Linked DNA regions of Homo sapiens: region 2 is linked to region 1. The links are contacts of gene promoters, found by promoter capture Hi-C in blood cells and fetal thymus (Javierre and others, 2016). All regions are on one chromosome and are shown on one strand. Each heading gives the region's core, a stretch centred on a gene start or on the middle of the fragment in contact. The rest is flanking DNA. Distances are from core to core; before and after follow the strand shown. Region 1 holds the start of LINC01431 (long intergenic non-protein coding RNA 1431). Region 2 holds the start of GINS1 (GINS complex subunit 1).

Region 1 (5,872 bases), core at 2,434-4,933:
GCTTCCGGGCCCCAGCAGCCTGCGGTCAGGGCCTGCAGCTGGCTTCCCACTAAGAGCTGCTCACGTCCCCGAGGCCGAGCGCACCCTTAGGGCACGGTGGCCACGCGAGGGACCTCGCGGAAAGCCGGGCTTGGAGCTGGTACTCACCTTGGCTACTAGGGGCGCAGATGCCTCCACGGGCGCTGGAGAACTGGCGCCAGGCGGGGCTCGGCGCGGCGCTCTCCTCTGGGGCGCTTCTTCCGCGGTGCCCCCGCCCTGCTGGGGGGCTCGGCGCGCCAGGAGCCGGGACCGCACCCTGCCGTCTTTACTGCAGGGCTTTATTTCCAGGAGTTCCCATTCGGGCGAAAGCTTTGTTCACTACAGAACTTCCCCAGAGACCCATCCACTCTTCGGGGAAAGCACAATTGATTCCCTAAGATTCGCTGACTCCTCGAAATCTTGCTGTTTCCACCAATTCTTGCTCAATACTAACTAAAGCCCGCTTTGAAACACCTTCCTTGAGTCAGACTTCCAGTTCTCAATAAACTGACCTTGCCTTTTGCTCCCAGCCATTGGTAAAGCTTTGCCAGGTCATGCTGTCCCTTACTGTGGCCAGCAGTTAACTCAGCCTTGTCTTACCGACACGTTGAGTTTGTAATGTTTGGGGACTGTCAGGACAAATACAAATTTAAAATAAGGTTTACTACTTCCTGTTGAAAATATGAGATTTCCCTCCCTTTTTCTTCGAACATTTACTTTTAGAAAATTGGTAATTAGTGTAAGTACTTTTTCCTCTCTTTGAAATATATAAATCCTTTTGAAGACTAGTTAGGCCTTTTTGTGCGCTTTATAACCTAGATATGTCTTTTTCTAGGACCTAGGAGCCATCTCTTTAAGTATCAAGGGAGTTAATGCCCCTGTCTCCCAGTTTTAATGGGGGAGTAGGAGCCTAACTTCAGTGGGCCCTTTGCTCCAACTTACAAAATTATCTCATATCATAAAGATACAAGTTTCTTTTTCCTCTAGATAAAGCCAATTGGCTAACACAGAGGATCATCCCAAATATCAGGTTAGATGAACTGTGTGTGATGAAAAATGCTGCCAAGTTCCCTTGAGAGCTAGTTATTGTTTATCTTGAAAATGTGTGTAATAGATTGCTTGGCTGCACAAAAGAGTGAGATTTCGTTCTGTCTTTGCAGTCTCTTAATGGATTGCCTGTGATGGGTATCACATTCTAGTTTAATGCTTATTCAATTACAAAGTGTTTTCTTTCTCCACTACCTTTCTGAAGAGGGTTGGGAGATTGTACTTTTAATTATATTTCCTGAACAGGAGCCAGCTTCCCACACATAGTAGGTGCTCAATAAATATTTGAAGAATGAATGAGTGACAGAAATCTTTCTTAGGCCGACTCTCTATATTTGCATTCCATGATTTGAAGAAATTGGAATGAACGCAGTTTTCACCCATGGCTCCAGCAGGCCCAGAATCGTGTTTTATGATTTTGTTTTGCATTACAAAAAGGTGGTCAGGCACGGTGGCTCACGCCTGTAATCCCAGCACTTTGGGAGGCCGAGGCGGGCCGATCACTTGAGGTCAGGAGTTGAAGACCAGCCTGGCCAACATGGTGAAACCCCGTCTCTGCTAAAATACAAAAATTAGGCCAGGTGCGGTGGCTCACACCTGTAATTCTAGCACTTTGGGAGGCTGAAGTGGGCGGATCACCTGAGGTCAGGAGTTCAAGACCAGCCTGGACAACATGGTGAAACCCTTTCCCTGCTAATAATACAAAAATTAGCTGGGCGAGGTGGTACATGCCTTTAATCCCAGCTATTCAGGAGACTGAGGCAGGAGAATCGCTTGAACATGGGAGGCAGAGGTTGCAGTGAGCGGAGATTGCACCACTGCATTCCAGCCTGGGCAACAGAGGAAAACTCTGTCTCAAAAAAACAAAACCAAATTAGCCGGGAGTGGTGACAGGCACTTGTAATCCCAGATGCTCAGGAGGCTGAGGCAGGAGAATCACTTGAACCCAGGAGATGGAGGTTGCAGTGAGCTTCGATCATGCCATTGCACTCCAGCCTGGGCAATAGAATGAGACTCCGTCTCCGATTATGTTAGCTAGCATAACATAATGCTAGCTTATCCATTCAATACTGAAAGGATTGCTTTAGTTGAGTGTCTTAATAGCTTTAAAAATAGAGGTCATAAGACTCACAGACTCTTTGTGGCAATACTAAATGATAAAGAATGAAGGGCCATGCCTGGCAAGGGTTGTCATGCACCTCTACACTTCAAGAAGAAACTATGCCTTAACTGCCACAAGGTTTTTATTCTCTGGCAGCCAAACAAGCACTGGCCTCTAGATAAGCAATATTCAAACAATGTGCTTTTCATCCACCTCCACATGCTGACTGACACGCCCCCTGCCCCAGCCCCACCACTTCCACAAATAATTACTGCTTTGATTGGACCAGAGACTGACTGCAGTAACTTTTTCCTGATGGGAAACAACCGAACAGGGGCTGATTCTGGCGGTTTACAGAGGCTGCACACAAGTGCATCGGTGTCCTGAAAAGATCTTTCAACTTATAGGGTCTAAATGTAATACATGAATACCTGTAAATGCTAAGAGTCCACCCCAAAGTAAACATAGGTCACCTGTAACATGCACGTTTGTCCAGTAAGCATGGGTCAGGACCCGTTTCATGAATATTCATAGCTCTTCCTGTGGCCTGTTCATATGTGTACTTGGCTAAGTCCTTCAGCTTAAATTCCTGTCTTAGGCCCCCTTCCCTCCAGCTGCCTGCCTTTTGAGCTTCTGCCAGAAGCTATGCTTCCCAGCCTGTCAGAAGGGCCACCTTGCAGGTTATCACCGTTTAAAGAAATAAAGCTCTCCTTTCTATGTTTGTGATCTTTTTTTTAAATAATACAAATAGACAATTCACTTGACAGTGTGAATGGCATACTTCACTGACAATGGAATACTATAAAAACAATAATAAACCACTGATAAACATCAACCTGACAAAGTTAAATATAGTGTTTCATGCTGTAGAACTCTGCACGAGAAAAGTACACGGGAGTGAACAATTGTTACGTAAGGGCGTTCACTGCAGTGCACTTACATTAGTGAAACTTTGGAAACAATCTCACCTATAAGGAGATGGCCGAAGAATTTGATATATCCAAGCACTGGATTATTATGCCGGTCATTAAAACAATGTTTAAAAATATGTGTAATAGCTTGGGGAAATGCTCACCATGTTATAATGAGTAAAGACGGTACACTATTTTACATAGGGTCTGATGTGATTTGAAAACAAATCTATAGAAATAGACTGGAAAGAAATGTATCAAATTCTAAACTGCACAAGGAAGAACACTGACGCACGCGCAACGCCGGCGCCCTGCCCACTAGGCGCCCTCGCTGCCCCTCACCTGCACAGCCGGCGCACGCCCACAGGCTCGTGAGGGAGCGGCCGGTGGGTCAGGCTGGGCGGCACTCCTCGCCCATTGGCTGTCCCGGAGTCCGGCCCCGCCTCTCCCCGCCTTCTGGAGCCGCTGGTATAGCTCCTTCCAGGGCTCCTTGGAGACGGAGGGCGGGGCTAGGGCGCCGGAGTCACGTGGTCGCGCCACCGCGCGATTACTAGCTGTCAAAAGAGTCCTCAGAAGTGTCCTGAGCGGTCGCAGGGTAATGACGTCGGCCGTATCGGGGATGCTGGAACCTGCGGTTGAGTGAGAAACCGGCGCCACCGCCTGCGTCTTGGTCTCGGGCTGGTGGCCAGCGGGGTCTGGGCGTGGTTTTACCCAGCTCCTTTGCGAAGCTGCTGTCCTTTCCTCAACGTTACCACCCGGCTGGGCAGCCTACCCTCGGTCAGTACGTCCTGGCAAGAGCGCTTCGGGCGTGGCGTTCGTGTCGCGGGGGCCTCGGCTCAGAAGCGAGGGAAGAGCAGCCCTCAGAGGAGCGGCGACCGCGCTTACCGGGAGCCCGGGTTGGGAGAGGGCTCCCCAGGAGGGGTGTGAGCTCCGAACGAGAAAGAACGCCACCGCCTCGTGGGGTCTCTTCCTAATGTGCAGATTCCAAATCTCTACAATGCTGCAAAAGAGGTTACAGTCCACATCAAATTAAGCATGCCCTAAAGGGCAGCTGGGGTTCAGTTCAAGAGTTGAGTTTTAACACACACCTTTACCTGCCTTAAAATTGGGCAAGGTATCACAACGTTAAACCATTTCTCACAAGGCTCGTTGGTGATGTTTAAGATTTTTTGTTTGTTTGTTTGTTTTTTGTTACGGAGTCTCGCTCTGTCGCCCAGACTGGAATGCAGTGGCGCGATCTTGGCTGACTACAACCTCCGCCTCCTGGGTTCAAGCGATTGTCCTGCCTCAGCTTCCTGAGTAGCTGGGATTACAGGCGCCTGCCACCACGCCCAGCTAATTTTTCTATTTTTAGTAGAAACGGGGTTTCGCCTTGTTGGCCAGGCTGGTCTTAAGTTTTGCATCCTGGCTCCCTCCTCTTACCTAGTCCCAGCCTCTTGTCTACAGGACAAAGCAACTTTCTGCAGTTTTCTGTTTGCTCTTTAGAGAGACGGGGCCCTAATTTGGCAAAGTGGTAGGGGAGACAGGGCTGGTGTTTAAGGTCGACCAAAGCAACATCTAAATCTCTGCTCTTCCCCCAAATTGTCCAAATTAGCAGCAACAGGTGTGCACCTTCCAAGCTTGCAACAGACCACATTCAGAAGCTTGATTTCTTGTTGTTCTGGGAATATCTGGATCAGAGGTAACATGGTTCACTAGGACTCCTCAGCTTCACCCAGTGTCCATTTCACCTCCCCCGGCCTTCCAATGTCTCTTCTTGCAGATTTCTCCAAGCCACTCTCCCCGTCATCTCCTCCACCCCCAGGACCCAACTCCTGCCCCTCCCACCCTAGCCCCTGTTCTCCCTGCCCACCTCCTACCCCACTGGAGTGGCCTTTCATCAAACCTAAACCAAAGAAACCAACAGACCTTGCTGTCACCACTACTCCGGGACCTGGAAGTTAAAGCGAGGGAGAGACGGTGAAACACAGAAAGCAGAACGCCTTCTGTTCTTCCACAACACAGGGTTTGTGGACGTGGCCACTATAAGAACTCGCACTGCGTGCTGATTATACTCCTCAGCACAATTCATTTCTTAAACTTTTTAGAATAATTTAAAATTTACAAAAAGTTGCAAAAATAAAAACCAGTAAACTTTTCACCTTCATCTGCCTTATAATTAAGGCAGCGGGCAGCGCGCTGGACAGAACGGGAGGGGCTTGCGCTTTCCGCCGGTGGGAAACCCCACCCGCAGGGACGAGCCGGGACCATCTGGCCCTACCTGCCGAACGGCCGCTTGGTGGAGATGTGTCCCAGAACCGAAGGAGGAGGGTGCCACGCACATTTGTCTTGCCTTCCCCGGTGGCGGGGGCATGGCAAGGGCGGAGCTTCCCGCTGTGCCCTTGGAGGCCGCCTGCAACCAGGCTAGTGTAGGTGGGGACGCACGCCCTGTACCCTACCCATCCTGCCCATTGCGGGTCTGGCCCGGACCTGAAGGGCAGTAGTTGGGGCCGTCCCCGCGTCTTCTGGGCCCTGTAGTGAATACAGTCTGCCCCATTCAAATCCTTTTCCTCACTTAGGATTACTGCTGTGTGTCAGTGTCACACACCCCAAATTGATAATGGCTTAAGATGGGATTTCTCATTTAAAAAGAAGTCTTTGGTTGAGTGAGCTGGGGCTATTTTGGTGTTTCCACATGGGACCTAGGCTCCTTTTAGCTCAGCACTATCCTACGTCTAGGGTATGGCTGAGCTGTTCTCTTGGCCAAGACTGAGCCAGAGCCCGTGGTCAGGTCAGCATAACCTTTCCAGGCAGC
Region 2 (6,531 bases), core at 3,600-6,099, 2.0 Mb before region 1:
GTGCAATGGTGCAATCTCGGCTCACTGCAACCTCTGCCTCCTGGGTTCAAGCAATTCTCCTGTCTCAGCCTCCCGAGTAGCTGGGATTACAGGCGCCCACCACCACGCCTGGCTAATTTTTTGTATTTTTAGTAGAGACGGGGTTTCACTATATTGGCCAGGCTGGTCTTGAACTCCTGACCTCGGGTGATCCACCCGCCTCAGCCTCCCAAAGTGCTGGGATTACAGGGATGAGCCACTGGGCCCAGCTTAAAAGTGATCTTAAAAGGTTAATACCAAAAGAAAGAAAAAGGAATAGTGTTTTTGGTTTGCACTGCAAAAACCGGCCATAGGAGTTTTTCTAGTATCCAGTTTCGGGCAAATTTTCCCTTGGAAAAATAAAACATTAGAATTCTGATTTTTTTCGTTGTTGTTGAGATGAAGTCTCACTCTGTGGCCCAGGTTGGAGTGCAGTAGTGCGATCTCAGCTCACTGCAACCTCTGCCTCCCAGGTTTAAGTGATTCTCTTGCCTCAGCCTCTCGAGTAGCTGGGACTACAGGTGTGCACCAGCAATGCCCAGCTAATTTTTTTTTTTTTTGAGACGGAGTTTTGTTCTTGTCACCCAGGCTGGAGTACAATGGTGCAATCTTGGCTCACTGCAACCTCCGTCTCCCGGGTCCAAGCAATGATTCTCCTGCCTTAGCCTCTCAAGTAGCTGGGATTACAGGTGCCCATCACGTCCAGCTAATTTTTGTATTTTTAGTAGAGACAGGGTTTCACCATGTTCACCAGGTTGGTCTCGAACTCCTGACCTCAGGCAATCCACCCACCTCAGCCTCCCAAAGTGCTAGGATTACAGGTGTAAGCCACCAAGTCTGGCTAATTTTTGTAATCTTTTTTTTTTTGGTAGAGACAGGGTTTCGCCATGTTGGCCACACTGCTCTCAAACTCCTGACCTCAAGTGATCCGCCTGCCATGGTCTCCCAAAGTGCTGCGAGTACAGGCAGGAGCCACCGTGTCCAGCCCAAAATGATTAAATGTTACCCAATAGGTCTGCCAACAATCGAAAGAGAAGCAATCCCATCTCTTTTTCACTGTCTATTTTTAGGGCCAAAATATATGTGTTGGCAAAAATGCTGTGGCATATACAAATGGCACAATTCCAAAATCAACTACTCAACTCTGCTCAAAAGATGTAATTCCTGATGGAAAATGCAAGCATGACTTCTACCTGAGCCCAAGGTAATTTTCTTACCTTTTCCTTTTTGAGACAGGGATTCAGTCTGTCACCCAGGCTGGAGTGTAATAGCGTGACCACAGTTCACTGCAGTTTCAACTTCCTGGAGCCATGCAATCCTCTCACTTCAGCCTCCTAAGTTGCTGGGACTACAGGTGTGTGCCACCACACCCAGCTAATTCTATTTTTTGTAAAAATGGGGTCTCACTATGTTGCCCAGGCTAGTCTCGAACTCCTGGGCTCAAGTGTTCCTTCCACCTTGACCTCCCAAAGTGGTGGCTGGGATTACAGGCATGAGCCACCATGCTTGGCCTAACTTTCTTAAAAATGTACTTTTTAAAAAAAGTATCAATTCTGCATATAGAAAGGGTGTAATCACTTTTCTGTTTGCTGAACACAGCGCTTAACCATGAGTGATTCCAGAAGAAAAGCCTGTGTGTTGGGCCGGGCACGGTGGCTCACGCCTATAATCCCAGCACTTTGGGAGGCTGAGGTGGGTGGATCGCCTGAGGTCAGGAGTTCGAGACCAGCCCGGCCAAAATAGTGAAACCCCATCTCTACTAAAAATACATAAAATTATCTGGGCATGGTGGCAGGCGCCTGTAATCCCAGCTACTAGGGAAGCTGAGGCAGGAGAATTGCTTAACCCAGAAGGCGGAGGTTGCAGTGAGCCGAGATCACACCATTGCACTCCAGCCTGGGCCACAGGAGCGAAACTCCCATCTCAAAACAATAAAAAAAAGAGAAAAGCCTGTGTGGTCCTTGGGCCTCTCAGATCCACTGTCAGCCTTCCTCTGTGCCGCTGAGTCGGAGGCCAGCCTCTGCAGGCTGACTAAGTGTTCCAGGCTGCTGGATCACCTTGAGTATCAGGTGGGTTTGTCAGTGGAAGGCACTAGTGAGACAAAAGGTGCTCCACCAAATTAAGACCTACAAGACAGTGATTCTACAACTTTTTTTTTTTTTTGAGGCGGAGTCTCTCTCTGTCGCCCAGGCTGTAGTGCAGTGACCCGATCTTGGCTCACTGCAACCTCCGCCTCCCAGATTCAAGCCATTCTCCTGCCTCAGCCTTCCGAGTAGCTGGGACTACAGGCACATCCCACCACGCCTGGCTAATTTTTTGTATTTTTAGTAGATACGGGGTTTCACCATGTTAGCCAGGATGGTCTCAATCTCAGGACCCTGTAATCCGCCCGCCTCAGCCTCCCAAAGTGGGGGGATTACAGGCGTGAGCCACCACTCCTGGCCTGATTCTACAACTTCTAAGACCAGCCCCTAGCCCCACAAAGTGATAACCCAACACTTAACTTAAAATTTGAGTAAAACAGAGAGCTAAACTAAGTGTCAGAGTCAGGTCCAAAATCCAGCTTGGCCGCACCTGTTTGCACAGTCTCTCTGTTCTCTAGGCCTGTGTCCTGATATGTACAATGACCTCTAAAGTTCCTAGTTCTCAGGCCACATTTTAGCATTTACACACTTCTGCATTCAAGCATCTCTACTGAGCTGCAGACTGCTGCCTAACTTTTTAAATGAGGTAACTGCTCTGAAGTTGAAAAAACAATTGACTAGAAACTGGAAAACCTGTGTTCAAGTTGAAGCTCTACCTCCAATATGCTGTAAATTCAGACGAGTTCCTTAACTTGACCCATAATTTGTGTCAGCTCAGTTTCTTCATTTGTAAGACAATCTAATTGTCTGGCTAGGTGCTCTTTAGTGTTCAAAACAAAACTCATTACCTTTCCCAACACACTCTATCTCCTGAACTCTGATGTTGTTTACCCAGTTTCCTAAGGATCCTCCAAGATCCCAATTCCTCCCTCTTATTCATTATGGACCCCATCTCTGCCCCTGCTCTAATAGCTACAAGTCATGTTTGCTTCATGTCTCTAAAACCCAAACACTGATCTCAGTGCCACTGACCTGACACAGTTCAGACCACACACCTCTCACCTGCTCTATCAGCCACCCAGTAGCCATCTCCCTGTCCCATTCTTTCCTCTCTTCAATCCATTCCCCATATTGCTGCCGCAGTTACCTTCAAAACACAAAAATTACCCTATCACTTCCTTGTCTAAAATCCTCTACCAGCTCCCAGCATGCCTTATAAGTGAACAACAAATTCATGTAGGCTGTGAGCCACCTTCCTAGACTCCCCACAGGCCCTATTGGTCACCCTCTCCAGTGTGACCACGTGACTTTGTGCTGCAGCATCCTTTGGCTGGGATGCCTCGCTTCCTTCTCAGATCAGTAACCTCATCCTTGAGGATGGAAAGGCTCATATATCACCTCTTCTACCCCAGCTCATACTGGTGTTTCTCCTTCGTGCTCCTTGCTATACCTCCTTAGTATCACTTAGCGTGGTGAATTCTATTATCTGTTTTTGTGCCCATCTTCCAGCAGAATGTGTCCTGACATCCACATAATGCCTGCTCTATGACGTAAGTGAAATATACAATTTAGAGTGCAGGCTCTGGAGCCAGAGTGCCAGGGTTCAAATCCTAGCTTTCTTGCTGTGTCACCTTAGGCAATATACTTAAATCTCCCCAATCCTATGCATATATAGCTGAAAAAAGTAGAAAACAATAGTTTAAACATCAAAAAGTTATTTTTGTTTTGTTTGGGACAGGGTCTCCCTGTCACTCAGGCTGGAATGCAGTGGCAGGATCAAGCGATCCTCCCGCCTCAGCCTCCCAAAGTGCTGGGATTACAGGCAGGAGCCATGGTACCGGGCCCTCAAAGGGTTATTAGAAAGACAAAAGATAATGTACATGAAGTGCTTAGCACTCTCCCTGGGGTAGCAGTGATAGAAAAATACAAATAATCATAATATTAATAGTAACAGCAGCAGCAGGAGAAAAGTAATATTAATAGCTAACACTGACTCAGCCCTTACTGTATGTGAGGCATATGCAGAGACCCTTACACATGCCACTCATTTTGCGTCCACTACATCATGCGTTGGGTACTATTATTGTCACCATCCCCATTTTTGCGTATGAGAAAACTGAGAGCACAGAAAGCTTGAGTAACTGCCCCAAAGTCACACTACAGAACCAGAATCTCAGCCAGGTTCCAGAGGCCTAGCTTTTACTGACCACGATTAGATGCCTGAGTGAGCAAGAAATGCTAAATTATCAGGCAACCTGTAAATATTTTAAGGGACCGGAACAAATCTGTCCAAGGAAAACTGCTAAAATGCAAAATTTGCTCAGATGAGGAAATTCACCAAATCGCTGGGTAGCGTAAGCATGAATGCTTTCTCTTTCCTCCTGAATTTTGTTTTGCTGCTTCCCAAGTTTTCCGGAGCTCGGAGGGAACAAGGTGCGAAAGTGAACCCTGACGGGGAGCCGCCCCGCCCCAGAGCCCAGGGCCCAACGCCGGCATGCCCCGTCCAAGTCTACCCGCCCCTCACGTTGAAGGCAGGCAGTTGCCCTTCGGGCGCGCGATGCAGCTCGCGGATCAGTTCCATGGCTTTTTCGCAGAACATGGCGGACGCTTCCCACTCCCGCGGCCTTGCCAACCACCAGCTCTCACGCCAAAATGGTATCTGGGCTCTCGGCGCCTCACTCCTTTCGTTCTAGTCCTACAGCGCCAGGCTCTCGCCTCGGCCTCCGCTCCGCGCTTTGGCGCCGAACAAAGCTAGCCAATAGGAACGCGCCTACGGCGCCCGAAAAGGGACATCCACCGCTCAGCCGCATTCCAAGAGGGGCGGAGTGGGAGGGGTCTTTCCAAGGTGAGGTCCCCGCCCCGGAGATGGCAGAACCCCTCGGCTGAGCAGAGACGGCTTTTCCAGTTCTCAGGCAGTGGGCCGGGGGACTCTACGGGCAGCAGAGCTGGAAATAAATGCACGCCCCGCAGCTTCCTTGTCATTTTCCTTTTGATTCATTCATTCTCGTTTAGGTTCAAGAAAAGAGCACTTTGAGGTTAAGAGGAAAGGCCCAAAAACTTGGTGTGCATTGGTAGGACGCAAGGGTTTCAGTTTTGCAGTGCGGGTTTTCTGTTTGATATTAAAATGAAACTCTCTTTTATTGGGTACCTAGTGCTGGTAGGGACTGCAGTGTGTATTTCATTCCCACAATTATCTCTGAAGTGTTTTAAGACCCGGGATTAATAAGGAAACAGAAGTTAGGTAACTTGCCCAAGGTCACACAGCTCCAGAGTGATTAGACTGTTATTTAGGCTTTCCATTTCCAACACCACAGTACCACCCTTTGATTTTAAAATAGTCTTTTAAAAATATTTGTAATATCTGCCCTAGATTAATACGAATTCACTAGGAATTTTCTTGGCTAGATGGTTATGGAATATTTCTTAAGCATATGGAAGATGGGAATCACTGCTAAAGAATTGTTTTATTAGGCAATTTTTCAAAAAGCAATGTTAATTTCTAACAAGCAATCTTGGATTTTTTTTTTTTTGAGATGGAGTCTCGCTCTGTCGCCCAGGCTGGAGTGCAGTGGCGCGAACTCGGCTCACTGTAAGCTCCGCCTCCCGGGTTCACGCCATTCTCCTGCCTCAGCCTCCCGAGTAGCTGGGACTACAGGCGCCCGCCACCACGCCCAGCTAATTTTTTGAATTTTTTAAGTATAGACGGGGTTTCACCGTGTTAGCCAGGACGGTCTCAATTTCCTGACCTCGTGATCCGCCCACCTCGGCCTCCCAAAGTGCTGGGATTACAGGCATGAGCCACCGCAACCGGCGCAATCTTGGATTAATTCTAGCTAACCCTAGAAACTATGTTGATCTTTTGCAAATATACAGTAGATATGTCATCTAAGGAATGGGCATGGGAATGGCCTACTCAGGCTTATGTTGAATAATGACATTGCCTTTTTTTTTTGGAGACAGGGTCTTAACTCCCGTTACCCAGGTGGAGTGCAGTGGCGCCATCTCAGCTCACTGCAGCCTCCACTTCCCGGGCTGAGGTAATTTTCCCCCCTCAGCCCTCTGAGTAGCTGGGACTACAGGCTCAGGCCACCACACCTGGCTATTTTGTATTTTAAGTAGAGACAGGGTTTCACCATGTTGGCCAGTCTGGTCGACAACTCTTGAGCTCAAGGGATCCGTCCGCCTGGGCCTCCCAAAGTGCTGGAATTACAGCGTGAGCCACCGCACCCAGCAAACATTGCCTTTTTGAAACCGCCTTTGAAAAAATTATAATAGAGAAAATTATTACAGTGAAAGAGATCTGACCTAACTGGCTCCATCTTGCTTCTAACCGCCAAGCCATCCTTGTTCATTCCTGGGCTTAGGGCGAATTAACTTGGGGAGAAACTTAGTTTATAGTTTAATTTTGAAACAAATACTTAGCCCTTTA

Evidence for each region. Contacts are between HindIII fragments. The CHiCAGO score rates a contact against its expected background, and 5 or more counts as called.
Region 2: a contact is called between the fragment with the promoter of GINS1 here and the fragment with the promoter of LINC01431 in region 1, in 1 of 17 cell types (non-activated CD4 T cells). The highest score is 5.6, in non-activated CD4 T cells.

The regions. Positions count from the first base shown.
Region 1 is chr20:23,355,938-23,361,809 of GRCh38, reverse strand. It overlaps LINC01431 (long intergenic non-protein coding RNA 1431), which reads left to right and starts at 3,683. Exons shown (of 3, transcript NR_109884.1): 1 at 3,683-3,855; 2 at 4,673-4,759; 3 at 4,841-5,216. It also overlaps a transcript of GZF1 not described here. RefSeq lists enhancers at 1-162, 3,588-3,977, 4,168-4,257 and silencers at 253-342, 3,348-3,537. The HindIII fragment of the contact is 4,137 bases long and covers 563-4,699 here.
Region 2 is chr20:25,405,991-25,412,521 of GRCh38, reverse strand. It overlaps GINS1 (GINS complex subunit 1), which reads right to left and starts at 4,849. Exons shown (of 7, transcript NM_021067.5): 1 at 4,627-4,849. The coding sequence starts at 4,701. It overlaps LOC105372581 (a long non-coding RNA gene), which reads left to right and starts at 4,227. Exons shown (of 3, transcript XR_937403.3): 1 at 4,227-4,451. RefSeq lists enhancers at 3,703-4,460, 4,558-4,807. The HindIII fragment of the contact is 9,972 bases long and covers 4,237-6,531 here.